Linked DNA regions of Homo sapiens: regions 1, 2, 3 and 5 are each linked to region 4. Evidence: promoter capture Hi-C in 16 types of primary human blood cells and fetal thymus (Javierre and others, 2016). All regions are on one chromosome and are shown on one strand. The core of a region is centred on a gene start or on the middle of the fragment in contact, and the rest is flanking DNA. Distances in the headings are between cores, read along the strand shown. Region 1 has its middle 9.1 kb from the start of ZSCAN18. Region 2 overlaps ZNF274 (zinc finger protein 274). Region 3 holds the start of ZNF835 (zinc finger protein 835). Region 4 holds the start of ZNF547 (zinc finger protein 547). Region 5 has its middle 3.6 kb from the start of ZNF418.

What was found. The method cuts DNA at HindIII sites, captures the fragments that hold promoters and counts their contacts. A CHiCAGO score of 5 or more calls a contact.
Region 1: a contact is called between a fragment that was not itself captured here and the fragment with the promoter of ZNF547 in region 4, in 2 of 17 cell types (total CD4 T cells and non-activated CD4 T cells). The highest score is 5.5, in total CD4 T cells.
Region 2: a contact is called between a fragment that was not itself captured here and the fragment with the promoter of ZNF547 in region 4, in 5 of 17 cell types (total CD4 T cells, naive CD4 T cells, total CD8 T cells and 2 more). The highest score is 9.5, in total CD4 T cells.
Region 3: a contact is called between the fragment with the promoter of ZNF835 here and the fragment with the promoter of ZNF547 in region 4, in 10 of 17 cell types (naive CD4 T cells, non-activated CD4 T cells, total B cells and 7 more). The highest score is 14.4, in naive CD4 T cells.
Region 5: a contact is called between a fragment that was not itself captured here and the fragment with the promoter of ZNF547 in region 4, in 6 of 17 cell types (total B cells, total CD4 T cells, naive CD8 T cells and 3 more). The highest score is 6.7, in total B cells.

What each region holds. Positions count from the first base shown.
Region 1 is chr19:58,106,029-58,108,728 of GRCh38, forward strand. It overlaps a transcript of ZSCAN18 not described here. Among named protein-coding and RNA genes, the nearest start is that of ZSCAN18, 9.1 kb to the left of the region's middle. The HindIII fragment of the contact is 4,764 bases long and covers 1-2,700 here.
Region 2 is chr19:58,184,692-58,187,391 of GRCh38, forward strand. It overlaps ZNF274 (zinc finger protein 274), which reads left to right. Exons shown (of 8, transcript NM_133502.3): 3 at 1,021-1,147; 4 at 2,256-2,351. Among named protein-coding and RNA genes, the nearest start is that of ZNF274, 3.0 kb to the left of the region's middle. The HindIII fragment of the contact is 1,171 bases long and covers 844-2,014 here.
Region 3 is chr19:56,670,321-56,673,020 of GRCh38, forward strand. ZNF835 (zinc finger protein 835) reads right to left here and starts at 1,437. Exons shown (of 2, transcript NM_001005850.3): 1 at 1,256-1,437. It overlaps LOC105372473 (a long non-coding RNA gene), which reads left to right and starts at 1,659. Exons shown (of 4, transcript XR_936110.4): 1 at 1,659-2,111. The HindIII fragment of the contact is 4,177 bases long and covers 1-1,531 here.
Region 4 is chr19:57,362,300-57,364,999 of GRCh38, forward strand. ZNF547 (zinc finger protein 547) reads left to right here and starts at 1,252. Exons shown (of 4, transcript NM_173631.4): 1 at 1,252-1,404. TRAPPC2B (trafficking protein particle complex subunit 2B) reads left to right here and starts at 1,252. Exons shown (of 2, transcript NM_001355204.2): 1 at 1,252-1,404; 2 at 2,516-2,700. The coding sequence starts at 2,535. RefSeq lists enhancers at 805-884, 925-1,304. The HindIII fragment of the contact is 1,910 bases long and covers 634-2,543 here.
Region 5 is chr19:57,937,681-57,940,380 of GRCh38, forward strand. No RefSeq gene overlaps it. Among named protein-coding and RNA genes, the nearest start is that of ZNF418, 3.6 kb to the left of the region's middle. The HindIII fragment of the contact is 1,983 bases long and covers 317-2,299 here.

The DNA.
Region 1 (2,700 bases), core at 94-2,593, 740 kb after region 4:
TAGTAATGATTCCTTGGATGGATCCAGGGAAAGTAAATTAAAAACCTTCTGGAAATGATTCACTATGCTAGATGCCATTAAGAGCATTCTAGGCCAGGCACAATGGCTCACACCTGTAATACTAGCACTTTGTCAGGATGAGGCAAGAGGATCACTTCGGCACAGGAGTTCAAGACCAGCTTGAGCAATATGGTGAGATGCCGTCTCTACAAAACATAAAAAAAATTAGCCAGGCGTGGTGGTGCATGCTGGTAGTTCCAGCTATGTAGGAGGCTAAGGTGAGAGGACAACTTGAGCCTAGAGGTCGAGGCTGCAGCGAGCCATGGTTGCAGCACTGCACTCCAACCTGGGCAACAGAATGAGACCATGTCTCAAAAGAAAAAAAGACATCTGGCTGGGCGCGGTGGCTCACGCCTGTAATCCCAGCACTTTGGGAGGCCGAGGCGGGCGGATCACGAGGTCAGGAGATCGAGACCATCCCGGCTAAAACGGTGAAACCCCGTCTCTACTAAAAATACAAAAAAAATTAGCCGGGCGTAGTGGCGGGCGCCTGTAGTCCCAGCTACTTGGGAGGCTGAGGCAGGAGAATGGCGTGAACCCGGGAGGCGGAGCTTGCAGTGAGCCGAGATCCCGCCACTGCACTCCAGCCTGGGCGACAGAGCGAGACTCCGTCTCAAAAAAAAAAAAAAAAAAAAAAAAAGAAAGAAAGAAAAAAAGACATCTGTTTTTTTTGTTTTTTTGTTTTTTTTTGAAATGGAGCCTCCTTCTGTTTCCCAGGCTGCAGTGCAGTGGCTCGATCTCTGCTCACTGCAACCTCTGCCTCCCAGCTTCAGGCAATTCTCCTGCCTCAGTCTCCTGAGTAGCTGGGATTACAGGTGTGCACCATCACGCCTGGCTAATTTTTTTTTGTATTTTTAGTAGAGATGAGGTTTCAGCATGTTGGTCAGGCTTGTCTCGAAATCCTGACCTCGTGATCTGCCCACCTTGGCCTCCCAAAGTGCTGGGATTACAGGCGTGAGCCACCGTGCCTGGCCAAGACATCTGTTCTTGAATAATGAGACTGGAAAGTCAAAATTACTCCTGATCTATGATGGGCTGCAGAATACATGTTGTGTTAGCAGGTGTGAGAACAACATTCATCTCCCTGTACATCTTCATCACAGCTCTTGTCAACAAGCAGCCATATTTTGAAAGGAATCTTTATTCTGAGGAAGTCTCAACAGTGGGTTTAAAATATTCAGCACAGGCCGGGCATGGTGGCTCATGCCTGTAATCTCATCACTTTTGGGAGGCCAAGGTGGGCAGATCACTTCAGGTCAGGAGTTCAAGACCAGCCTGACCAACATGGTGAAACCCTATCTCTACTAAAAAAAATACAAAACAATTAGTGTGATGGTGGGTACCTGTAATCCCAGCTACTTGCTCAGGAGTTTGAGGAAGGAGAATCGCTTGAACCCAAGAGGCAGAGGCTGCAGGGAGCTGAGATCACACTACTGCACTGCAGCCTGGGTGACAAGAGTGAAACTCTGTCTCAAAAATAAAATAAAATATTGAGTGCACCATGCGGTAAACACATGTGCTGTCATCCAGGATTTTTTCTTCCATTTATAGATGGAAAAACATATTTGTTACTTTCAAACAACATAAACTCTTCAACATGAAGTCTCTGACAAAGAGGAGGCAAAGAAAATCAGATCAGTCACTGCCACAGATGCTCACTGAATCCCCATAGGTCTCAGTCCAATGTGTCAACTCTGGTTTCTAGCGAGAGCACAGATACTTGGGAAAACTTTCCCACACTAGACACACTGGCACAAGGTCGCCTGAGCATGTACCTTCTTGTGCTTGGTCAGACAGGAGCTGTCCCTGAAGGCTTTGCCACACCGATTACACTCGTAGGGCTTCTCACCAGTATGAGTCCTCTGGTGCCAGATGAGGCCCGCGATGTTCCTGAAAAGTTTGACACTGGTTACAGCCACAGACCTTCTCACCAGTATGAATCCTCTTGTGCCTGATGAGGTACATAATCTCAGTGAAAGATTTTTTCACATTGTTTAACTCATGAGATTTCTTTCCAGAATGATTTTTTTGATGCAAAAGAGCTGACTGTTGTGGTTGGAGAATTTTTCACACTCCATACACATATAGGGTCTCTTTCCAATGTGAATTCTCCCATGTTTAATAAGTTATGTGTGATCAATGAAGGCCTTTCTACACCCAGTACATACATAGGGCTCCCCTCACATGTGAATTCTCAGATGGACAATAAGGTTGGAGACATCAGAAAAGGATTTTTCACATTCATTACATTCGAATAGTTTTTCCACAGTATGACTTCTGAAATGCAAAACAAGGGAAGAGTGGCAGCTGAAGGTCTTCCCATACCAATTCCTTTCACAGGGCTTCTTTCCTATGTGGGTTTTCTCATGCTTGGTAAAGGTGGAGCCAGCACTGAAGGCTTTCCCACTTCTTGCATTTATAGGATTTCTCTCCTGTGTGGATTTTTTGATGTACAATCAGGTTGTAATTCTTAGAGAGGGATTTTCCACAGTCATTACAGGTATAAGGGCTCTCTCCAGTATGAGTCCTCTGGTGACTGATGAAATGAGATTTCGGTCTAACGGACAGTCCACATTCACTGTCATTGTATTCATTTCCAGAGATACTTCCATTGTGTTCATAAGGACATGTGTCCCTATC
Region 2 (2,700 bases), core at 179-2,678, 820 kb after region 4:
TGACAGGTGAAGGAGATAGAAAGAAGCATCAGGGCCCTGGGTAGGGGCTGACGGCTTGGGTGTGATGGTGCAGCTCAGAGAATTCCCTAGGAGGCATACGCACCACTCCCAAAGTCAGAATTTTCAAATGAATAAGAAATAGGGGGCCGGGCGCGGTGGCTCACGTCTGTAATCCCAGCACTTTGGGAGGCCGAGGCAGGTGGATCACGAGGTCAGGAGATTGAGACCATCCTGGCTAACATAGTGAAACCCCGTCTCTACTTAAAAAAATACAAAAAATTAGCCGGGCGTGGTGGCGGGCGCCTGTAGTCCCAGCTACTCGGGAGGCTGAGGCAGGAGAATGGCGTGAACCGGGGAGGCGGAGCTTGCAGTGAGCCGAGATGGCGCCACTGCACTCCAGCCTGGGCGACAGAGAGAGACTCCGTCTCAAAAAAAAAAGAAAAGAAAAATAGGGCCGGGTGCGGTGGCTCACATGTGTAATCCCAGCACTTTGGGAGGCCGAGGCAGGCAGATCACAAGGTCAGGAGTTCGAGACCAGCTTGACCAACATGGTGAAACCCCATCTCTACTAAAAATACAAAAATTAGCCGGGCATGGTGGTATGCGCCTGTAATCCCAGCTACTCAGGAGGCTGAGGCAGGAGAATCGCTTGAACCTGGGAGGTGGAGGCTGCAGTGAGCCAAGATTGCGCCACTGCACTCCACTAGGAGACAGAGTGAGACTCTGTCTCAAAACAATAAATAAATAAATTAAATAAATAAATAAATAAATAAAATGGACAGATTTTCATATGCTACAGAGATCTCATGTGTTGCTCTCCTTATTGTAACCTGAATAGAGTCAAGCTTGGGTTTGCTTGGGGTTTCAGACAAAGACAGGAACTCAGGATGAGACTCCCAAAATGCCCTTGGGTCATCTTGTAGACCATTCTGTGCTTTCACTGGCCTGGTCAGCCTCCCCTGTCTTTCTTTTGTCGTGGATGCGGATGGCCTGTGGCTGAACAAGAATCTGGATTTTTAGGAACCAGTGACCTTTGAAGATGTAACACTGGGTTTTACCCCGGAAGAGTGGGGACTGCTGGACCTCAAACAGAAGTCCCTGTACAGGGAAGTGATGCTGGAGAACTACAGGAACCTGGTCTCAGTGGGTAAGGCTGGCCTCCAGGTCAAGAAGGATCTGTGCTTTGTAGCACAAATGTAGCACCTCTGAAGTATGTGTCTGCTTGGGCTCACACTGCAGGGGCACCAGTAGGAAAAGGGCAGCTTTTCAGTATGACTTCTGAATCATTGCCTAGTCCATCCCTCCCTGAATACCAGGGAGATGGGTCTGTCAGGGATGTTTTCAGCTGCAGTAGTGGATGCTTATTGTTCTTGCAACAAGAGTTCCGGCCAGGCATGGTGGCTCACTTTAGGAGACTGAAGCAGGAGGATTGCTTGAGCCCAGGAGTTTGAGACCAGCATGGGCAACATAGACCGTGTCTCTATTAAAAAAAAAAAAAAAAAGAAACTCCACAGAAATTCCAGACAATGCGATGCCAGTGTCCCAACAGCTTAGGAGTAGCATCAAAGAGCCTGTCCCTGCCAGGCACGGTAGCTTACGCCTGTAATCCTGGCACTTTGGGAGGCTGAGGCAGGCAGATCAGTTGAGGTCAGGAGTTCTAGACCAACCTGACCAACATGATGAAACCCTGTCTTTACTAAAAATACAAAAATTAGCCGAGCACCCCAGCTACTCAGGAGGCTGAGCCAGGAGAACTGCTTGAACATGGGAGGTGGAGGAGATTGCAGTGAGCTGAGATCAGATCACAGCACTCCAGCTTGGGCAACTGAGCAAGACTCCGTCTCAAAAAAAAAAAAAAAAAGCCTGTCCCTTCAAACTCTGGTTATTGTGAACCTTTCCATGTTCCCCCTAGTCATTGCACAGCTGTGGCTCCAAGCATTGCATCTGTGTTCAAGGCAGAAACAAGGAGAAGGGGTAGCCCTTTCACAGCTGTCATGTTTAACCAGAAAGCAAAAGCTTTCCCAGCTGACCGATCTCCCTTTGTGTCTGGCTGACCAGAACTGGACCCCTTAGCTGCTTGGCAAAGGAGTCTAGGAAAGCCAACAACAGGGATGGATGGAGTTGTGTTCACTGCTCTAGGCCAGAAGTCATGTGCCTTAGCAGGGGAGAAGCTGGAGACGGCTTGTGCTGCAGTAGGATAGCATTTTCTCCTGAACACAGACCCCCACAAGCCCTGTCTCTTTTCCTTTGAGCAGAACATCAGCTTTCCAAACCAGATGTGGTATCTCAGTTAGAGGAGGCAGAAGATTTCTGGCCAGTGGAGAGAGGAATTCCTCAAGACACCATTCCAGGTGAGAACCAGACATGGGAAGCCCCCACAGGGAAGGGGCCAACTGATGAGTCAGGGACCAGTATCTTGGAAAAGCAGTAGACATTGGGATACCCCAGGTGGGATGCTGTGATGAGCAGTTGCAGAACCAAACTCGAAGTTTTTCTCTGGCTCCACAGTCAGCAGTGTCCTACTTGGTTGAAAGTGAACCTGTTGCTGGTGGCAGGTGATACTTGTGTTGACAGTAGGGGCTCCCTTAGTCTGTTACACGCATTGTCTACTGCCCTCCCCTCATAATCACTGGTAACCCTGGTGTGTATTTCCAGCCAGACTTTCTTATATAGGCTTACGTGAATGTATGTGAATATATA
Region 3 (2,700 bases), core at 187-2,686, 690 kb before region 4:
CAGGAAGACACATGCATTACATCACACTCTGACACACACAGGGTCATACACAATCATACCTGCCCAGACACACACAGACATGCAGAGACACCCAAACCCATATCCAGGGACACACAGTCGCCCTCCTAACCCCCATGCAAGGAGGCAGGTGGGAAGCCATCACCTGCAGCCACACTCACACATGCACACAGGGTCCCGGGCACACGTAGCTACACACACACCCAGCCCCACACGTAGCTCCCTGTGTGAAGAGGTGCACAGAGACGCACAAGGTCACACATGCCACCTGCTCCACACAGGCCGGCCATTACTGGGACACACCCACAGGGGATGGCTGGACACATGTGCAGTCACACTCGGTGGATAGAGCTCCAGCATAGCCAAAGCCCACATGTGCAGCGTCTCCATCATGTGCAGATGCACACACTTCAGACAGCACGGCACTCTACAGGCTCGCACAGCCAGGTCACCCATCATTGTGCTGGCAGGCACACGGGCCGAGCCAGCCTACACGGCGGCACACCCAGACATGCACACGTGGGGTCACACACCTCACATCCAGGAGAACTTTCAGACTTGCCCAAAGGCAGCCACACGTGTATGTGACATGCTGTGATATGCAGACACCGCTTCACATGAACGAGCACATAACACACCGATAAAGTGTTACATGCCTTTACCTGCAGTCACCTGCCTGGGCTGGCACCACTGAGTGAGCAGGTGCAGACACAGTGACACTCGGGGACGGGCTCACAGGCAGTCACACACCTGCAAGGCCTGGCACCGCCGAGTGAGCAGGTACAGACACAGTGATGGGCTGGCACCGCCAAGTGAGCAGGGGCAGACGCTGTGACACTCAGGGACGGGCTCACAGGCAGTCACACACCTGCACCTGCTGGTACCGTCGAGTGAGCAGGTGCAGACGCTGTGACACTCAGGGACAGGCTCACAGCCAGTCACACACCTGCACGGCCTGGCACCGCCAAGTGAGCAGGTACAGACACAGTGACGGGCTGGCACCGCCGAGTAAGCAGGTGCAGATGCAGTGACAGGCTCACAGGCAGTCACACACCTGCACCTGCTGGTACCGTCGAGTGACCAGGTGCAGACGCTGTGTTACTCAGGGACGGGCTCACAGGCAGTCACACACCTATACGGGCTGACACCGCTAAGTGAACAGGTGCAGACACAATGGCACTCGGGGACGGGCTCACACGCGGTCACACACCTGCAGGAACACGCGCACACTACACACCGTTGCTCTCGCCTCCCGGTATCACCTTCGAACGCGCTGGCCGGCCCCCTCCTAGCCTGGTGCAGTCGGCTCCGCTTCTACTCAGTCTCGGGTCCTCCTGGGCCAACGCAGACCCTGGTGCCTCCTTCCTTAGACGAGCTAAGGTCAAGACTTCTGCTGCTGCGGAGGAGCCCGCGCACCAGGCCGGGGTGGACTGCGCCTGCGCATCGGGCCCGCCTGGTTCTTAGGAACTACGACTCCCAGGGGGCGCTGCGCGCTCGCCGGCACCGCGACTAAAGCTTGCAAAGCCTGGGTCATCGAAACTACAACTCCCAGAAGGCTAAGCGTCTGCACACGCTAGGTCCGCAGGGCGCTGACCCCTGGGGGCCCGAGGAGCGCCGGGCTGCTGCCCCGAGCCCCGCCCACTACAGCCTCAGTGCATGGCGGTGGGCGCTTCCAGTAACTCAGGGGTGGGACTTTTTTCTTGCTCAGGGGATGAGGCCGAGCCCACAGGCTTAGAAAGAAGGAACTTGAGTCCGGGCACCTGTCATCCCAGCGCTTAGGGAGGCCGAGGCGGGTGGATCACCTGAGGTCAGGAGTTCGAGACCAGCCTGGCCAATATGGCGAAACCCCCGTCTCTACTAAAAATACAAAAATTAGCCGAGCATGGTGGCATGCACTTCCAGCTACTTGGAAGGCTGAGGCGGGAGAATGGCTTGAACCTGGGAGGCGAGGGTTGCAGTGAGCTGAGATCGCACCACTGCACTCCAGCCTGGGTGACAGAGCGAGACTTCGTCTCAAAAAAAAAGAAGAAGAAAGAAGGAAGCTGAGGTTCAGACAGGCTAAGTCCCTACTGCAGGCTGCGGAATCTAAAAAGGTAGGTGCCAGGGTTTGCAACCCACACTTTTATTTTGGTCTCAGGTAGCTGATGTCATTCCAGTCTATGGCAAAGAAGGTGGCAAATCCATTAACATAGATGAAGAATTTCATTTTACTTTTTAGTTTTATTTATTTATTTATTTTTATTATGTATCATGCTTTTAATACAAACTTTAAAAAATCTGGAACAATAGAAACTGTACAGATTTGATCAATCTTTTTGTTTTGTTTTTAAACTAAAATCTCTAAACACACCAATGTCCTATTCCAAAATATTGCACAACATTCTGAATACAAAACCCTTGATTGTATTCCTCCTTCACTGAAGAAAAAACTTCATGACCCTGCTCCCCGGGCTCCTCTCCAGGCTTGCGTCAATGCCCCCTTCCCATCCCTAGGGAGAAAACTAGAGAATCTATAACTCACTGCATTGAGAAAAAGACATCATTCTGGACTAACAGTTTCCATTCTTCAGAAGATAATCCACCTTTTGATTTGTTCCTGGGAAACAGGGATAGATAGAGGATGGGGAAAGGGGAGAAAAGGTTTTATTTCTCCTCTTTTTTTTTTAAAGTTTGTTTTTCCTG
Region 4 (2,700 bases), core at 2-2,501:
CTCATCCAGGCCTATAATTGCCCCAGCCTGTAAGCAGTGAGGGGTTCTGGCACTAAGCTAGTTCTCCCCATCACAGGTCTCGTGCTGGACATAAAACCTGCATTGCTGTAGAGCTGCCAACTCTGCCTTTCTTTAACCCTCGCCTTCCCTTCAAAACCTAACAGTTATTATTAATAGATTTCTGTAATTTTCATTTCACAAGTATTTTCACAGATAATTTCAACTCCCTGTAAAATGATAACTCACTTCTCAGGAAGGAGATAAGATCATGAAAGTTCACAGTTTTTATTGGGGATAATACGTTCCCTGTGTACATATACTCCAACTATGGAATGGCACAAAATGTCCTGTCAGGAAATGGCATGTATCAGTCACTCTCATTTTCAGACAGGATTGAGACTTTTAAAATAAATGTAAAATATTTCAGACATGAAGTAATAAGTATTATTAGAATAAAAGCATTGCACTCTTGGTAGGAACACAATCACTGACTCTACAGACAGTAATGATGTTTTCTTCTGGATCCAGAGGCACAGCGTCACCCTTTCAATCTACGTCGGTATCTCCTGTCTTCTTTTGTGCAAATTCCCAGCCATGTAGTCTTTCTTTGTTCTCTTGGACCAACCATATTGAAGCTTAATAAATAGAAGTCAAAGTTTAACTGTATGTGTATTTGAAAAGCAACATATGGCTGAGAGGCATGAGTAGAGACAGAGTGCCTTTGTGGTATAGTGTGTCCCTTTGGCGGTGTAGCCGTTGAGAACTTGCTGTGCTTCACAATCCGATATCATAGGTCCCTCACATTTCTGTGAGTATCCTAGACCTTACTTCAAGAAAATCTGGTTATGTCGCCTTTAAGAGCAACCCAAGCCCCGTCCTGTCCGTGGAGTCCGGCACTCTGTTTACCAGCTCCCCTGACGGTGCCACTGAGCCTCTATCCGCCATATAAGGACTGACCAACGCTCTAAGGCAAGTCCAGAAGCGGTGTCGAAACTTCATAACCCAGAAGACACTGCGGTTCTCGGCAGCGCGACTGACCCAATGAATGTGCAGGAAGGAACCTTTGCGTGCGTGCGTGCGTGCGTGCGTCCGTCCTCGTGCTCGCGCATCGTAGGAGGGCGGGACTTCCGGCGTCCTCTTGCCGTGGTTGATTTGATTTTCTCTGGTGTTTTCACTAGTTCCGGCCTTTGGCGCTCTATGACGTCACCGAAGTGACGGAGCGGAAAAGCGCGAGAAGCGGCTTGGTTCCTTGTACGCAGAGGCGGTAGTGACACAGGCACAACTGACAGTGGCAGAAGCTCAGCTGACAAGGACTGGGGACGGCGGTGTCCTTGTCTTGCCTTTGTCGCCCCCGCCCCTCTCTTCCCTGGCTGGACTTGCGGAGTCCCCGCCGAAGAACCCGAGGTGGGTGCCCCGTCCCAGGCCCCCCCCCACCTCCGCCCGACCCCTCCTTCCAGTGCTGAAGCCCATAGAAGGGGCCCTGCAGGTCAGGCCCCTTGTCTCGAAGAGAGGGGCGTTCCTGTGTGGGGTCCCCGTATCAGCTGGTTTGATGCAGCCTCAGAGCTCCCTTCGGGGATCTCAGGTTCAGAGCATGGAGGTGCTGCCAAGTGGGCCGCGTCGGGGAGCCCGGAGTGTGGGTTGTTTCTGCGGGAAAGAGAGGGTTTTGTGAATTTTCTCTTGGAATGGCAGCCTGAGCAGCCGGTATAACCATGGAAGGTTGTCAAGGGAAGACCAGTGGGAGGGGCAGGTCCAGAGTTAGAACGAGCAGGATGGGGAATTGACACAGAGAGACCCAGAAGAGGCCACTGCAGTGGATCCCAGAGGCTGCACCAGAGCCGTGGTATAAGAGGGACAATGTGATGGGATTCTGGATAGACCTGGAAGATAGAGCCAACAGGTTTTCCTGCCGTATCAGATATGTCTGTGAGCAAAAATAGGGAGTGAAGGGTCATTTTTTTTTTTTTGCCCGAACATCTGAAAGAATGAAGTTGGGGAAGTCAGCAGCATGAGAAGTAGGTTTCATGGAGAAGATCATGGGTTGGAGTTTGGCCAGTGTGATTCTCAGGCGTCTCAAGTTGAAAATGTCACATGGGTAGGGGGACAGAAAGGTGTGGAGTCTACAGAGGAGAACTGGTGTAGATTCTTCAAAAGAATAGAGGGTGGCCGGGCGTGGTGGCTCACGCCGGTAATCCCAGCACTTTGGGAGGCCAAGGCGAGCGGATCACAAGGTCAGGCGTTCAAGACCAGCCTGACCAACATGGTGAAACCCCGTCTTTAGTAAAAATACAAAAATTAGCCGGGGGTGGTGACGCGCGCCTGTAATCCCAGCTATTCGGGAGGCTGAGGCAGGAGAATTGCCTGAACCCAGGAGGTGGAGATTGCAGTGAGCCAAGATCGCGCCATTGCACTCCAGCCTGGGCGACAGAGCGAGATTCCGTGTCAAAAAAAGGTGCGGAGCGCGGGTCTCTTCCGCGGAAACTGACATTGCGTTTCCGTTGTCGGCCTCCCGCTGCAGGAGCCATATATTGAAGACCATGTCTGGAAGCTTCTACTTTGTAATTGTTGGTCACCATGATAATCCAGTTTTTGAAATGGAGTTTTTGCCAGCTGGGAAGGCAGAATCCAAAGACGACCATCGTCATCTGAACCAGTTCATAGCTCATGCTGCTCTCGACCTCGTAGATGAGAACATGTGGCTGT
Region 5 (2,700 bases), core at 58-2,557, 580 kb after region 4:
CCAAGGTGGAGAAAAATTGTGCCTGTTCACCTACCTACTTGGGAGGCTTAGAGGGAGGATCACTTCTGCAAAGGAGTTTGAGGCCAGCCTGGGCAGCAGAGCAAGACTCTGTCTCCAAATAAATAATTTAATGAATAAGTAAAAACAGAAGGTGAAATCTGCAGTATAGTATTATCCTCATAGAATTGTGTCTCCCTTTCTTCATTATTCTGTGTGTCAATTATGTTACAAGTTTTTCATCTTATAGGAAAAAAGTCATAGATTCTATACACATCTGTACTTTTTCTCACTTAGCAATATGGTTTGAACAATGAAAAGCTTCTTTTTCACTTCACATTTGAAATCTGCTTATCTCCACATTCTATTTTTTTCTCCCCTTTTTGAGACAGCGTCTCACTCTGTTGCCAAGGCTGAAGCGCAGTGGCATGATCAAGGCTCAACTGCAGTCTCAACCTCTCAGGCTCAAGTGATCCTCCCATCTCAGCATTCAGGAGTAATTGGGACTATAGGCATGCACCACCACAACCAGCTAATTTTTGAGAGATGTGGTTTTGCCATGTTGCCCAGGCTGGTATCAAACTCCTGAGTTCAAGCAATCCTCCTGCCTCGGCCTCCCTAAGTGCTGGCATTATAGGATTCGGCCACTACACCTGGCCTATTCATCTTTTTCTGATGTAGAACCCACTCAGTGACAGTGTAATCAAGAATCAAGAAAGAGGCCAGATGCAGTGGCCATGCCTGCAATCCCAGCACTTTGGGAGCCTAAGGTGGGCAGATCACTTGAGGTCAGGAGTTTGAGACCAGCCTAGCCAACATGGCAAAAACCCGTCTCTACTAAAAATACAAAAATTAGGTGGGTGTGGTGGCGCACATCTGTAATCCCAGCTACTCGGGAGGCTGAGGCAGGAGAATTGCTTGAACCCGGGAGGCAGAGGTTGCAGTGAGCTGAAATCGTGCCACTGCACTCCAGCGTGGACAACAGAGCAACTCCGTCTCAAAAAAAAATAGAGCCAGAATACAATACACAAGCAACTGAAGTATTTCAACAGCAAAGAAACCCTCAAACAATCCAATTTAAAAATGTCAAACGATCTGAATAGGCATTTTTCAAAAGACAACATACAAACGGTCAAAAATATATTAAAACACACTCATCACTATCTGGGAAATGCAAATCAAAACCGCAATGAGGTATCACTCTCCCCGTTTAGGATAATTATTATCAAAAAGACAAAAACAGACGCTGGCAAGGATGCAGAGAAAAGGGAACTAATGGCCAGGTGCGGTGGCTCACATCTGTAATCCCAGCACTTTGGGAGGCCGAGCTGGGTGGATCACGAGGTCAGGAGTTCGAGACTGCCTGACCAACGTGGTGAAACCCTGTCTCTACTAAAAATGCAAAAATTAGCCAGGCGTGGTGGTGCGTGCCTATAATCCCAGCTACTCAGGAGACTGAGGCAGGAGAATAGCTTGAACCCGGGAGACGGAGGTTGCAGTGAGCCAAGATCATGCCACTGCACTCCAGCCTGGGCGACAGAGAAAGACTCCATCTCAAAAAAAAAAAAAAACCCAACAAAATACAAGAAAAGGGAACTCATGCACTGGTGGTGCAAATGCAAACCAGTACAGCCATTATGGAGAACAGTATTGAGGTCCCTCTAAAAACTACAAATATGCCAGGCGCGATGGCTCACGCCTGTAATCCCAGCACTTTGGGAGGCTGAGGCAGGCGGATCACGAGGTCAGGAGTTCGAGAACACCCTAACCAACATGGTGAAACCCCGTCTCTTCTAAAAATACAAAAATTAGCAGGGGTGGTGGCACGCACCTGTAATCCCAGCTACTCAGGAGGCTGAGGCAGGAGAATTGCTTGAACCTGGGAGGCGGAGGTTGCAGTGAGCCAAGATCACACCACTGCACTCCAGCCTGGATAACAGAGTGAGACTCTGTCTCAAAAAACAAAACAAAACAAAACAAAAAACTACAAACACAACTACCATATCATCCAGCAATCCCCCTACTGGGAATTTATCCAAAGGAAAGAAAATCATCACATTGGAGACACATCTACACCCCGTTTACTGCAGCACTATTCACAATAGCCAAAATATGGAATCAACCTAGATGTCCAACAACAGATAAATGGATAAAGAAAATGTGGTTTATACACACAAAGGAATACTATTCAAAGAACAGAATGAAATCCTATCACCTGAGGCAACATGGATGGAAATGGAGGACATTATTTAAGTGAAATAAGCCAGGAACATAAACATGCACATTCCCACTCATATGTGGAAGCTTTAAAAAAAAAAAAAAAAAGCTGGGTGCGGTGGCTCACGCCTGTAATCCCAGCACTTTGGGAGGCTGAGGCGGGTGGATCACCTGAGGTCGGGAGTTCAAGACTAGCCTGACCAACATGGAGAAACCCTGTCTCTACTAAAAATACAAAATTAGCCGGGGTGGTGGTGCATGCCTGTAATCCCAGCTACTCAGGAGGCTGAGGCAGGAGAATCGCTTGAACCCAGGAGGCAGAGGCTGCGGTGAGCCAAGATCATGCCACTGCACTCCAGCCTGGGCAAAAAGAGTGAAACTCCATCTCAAAAAAAAAAAAAAAAAAAAAAAAAAAAAAAGCCTGGGAGACAAAGCAAGACTGTCCCCCACCCCCACAAAAAAAAGTTGATCTCTTAGAAGTAAAAA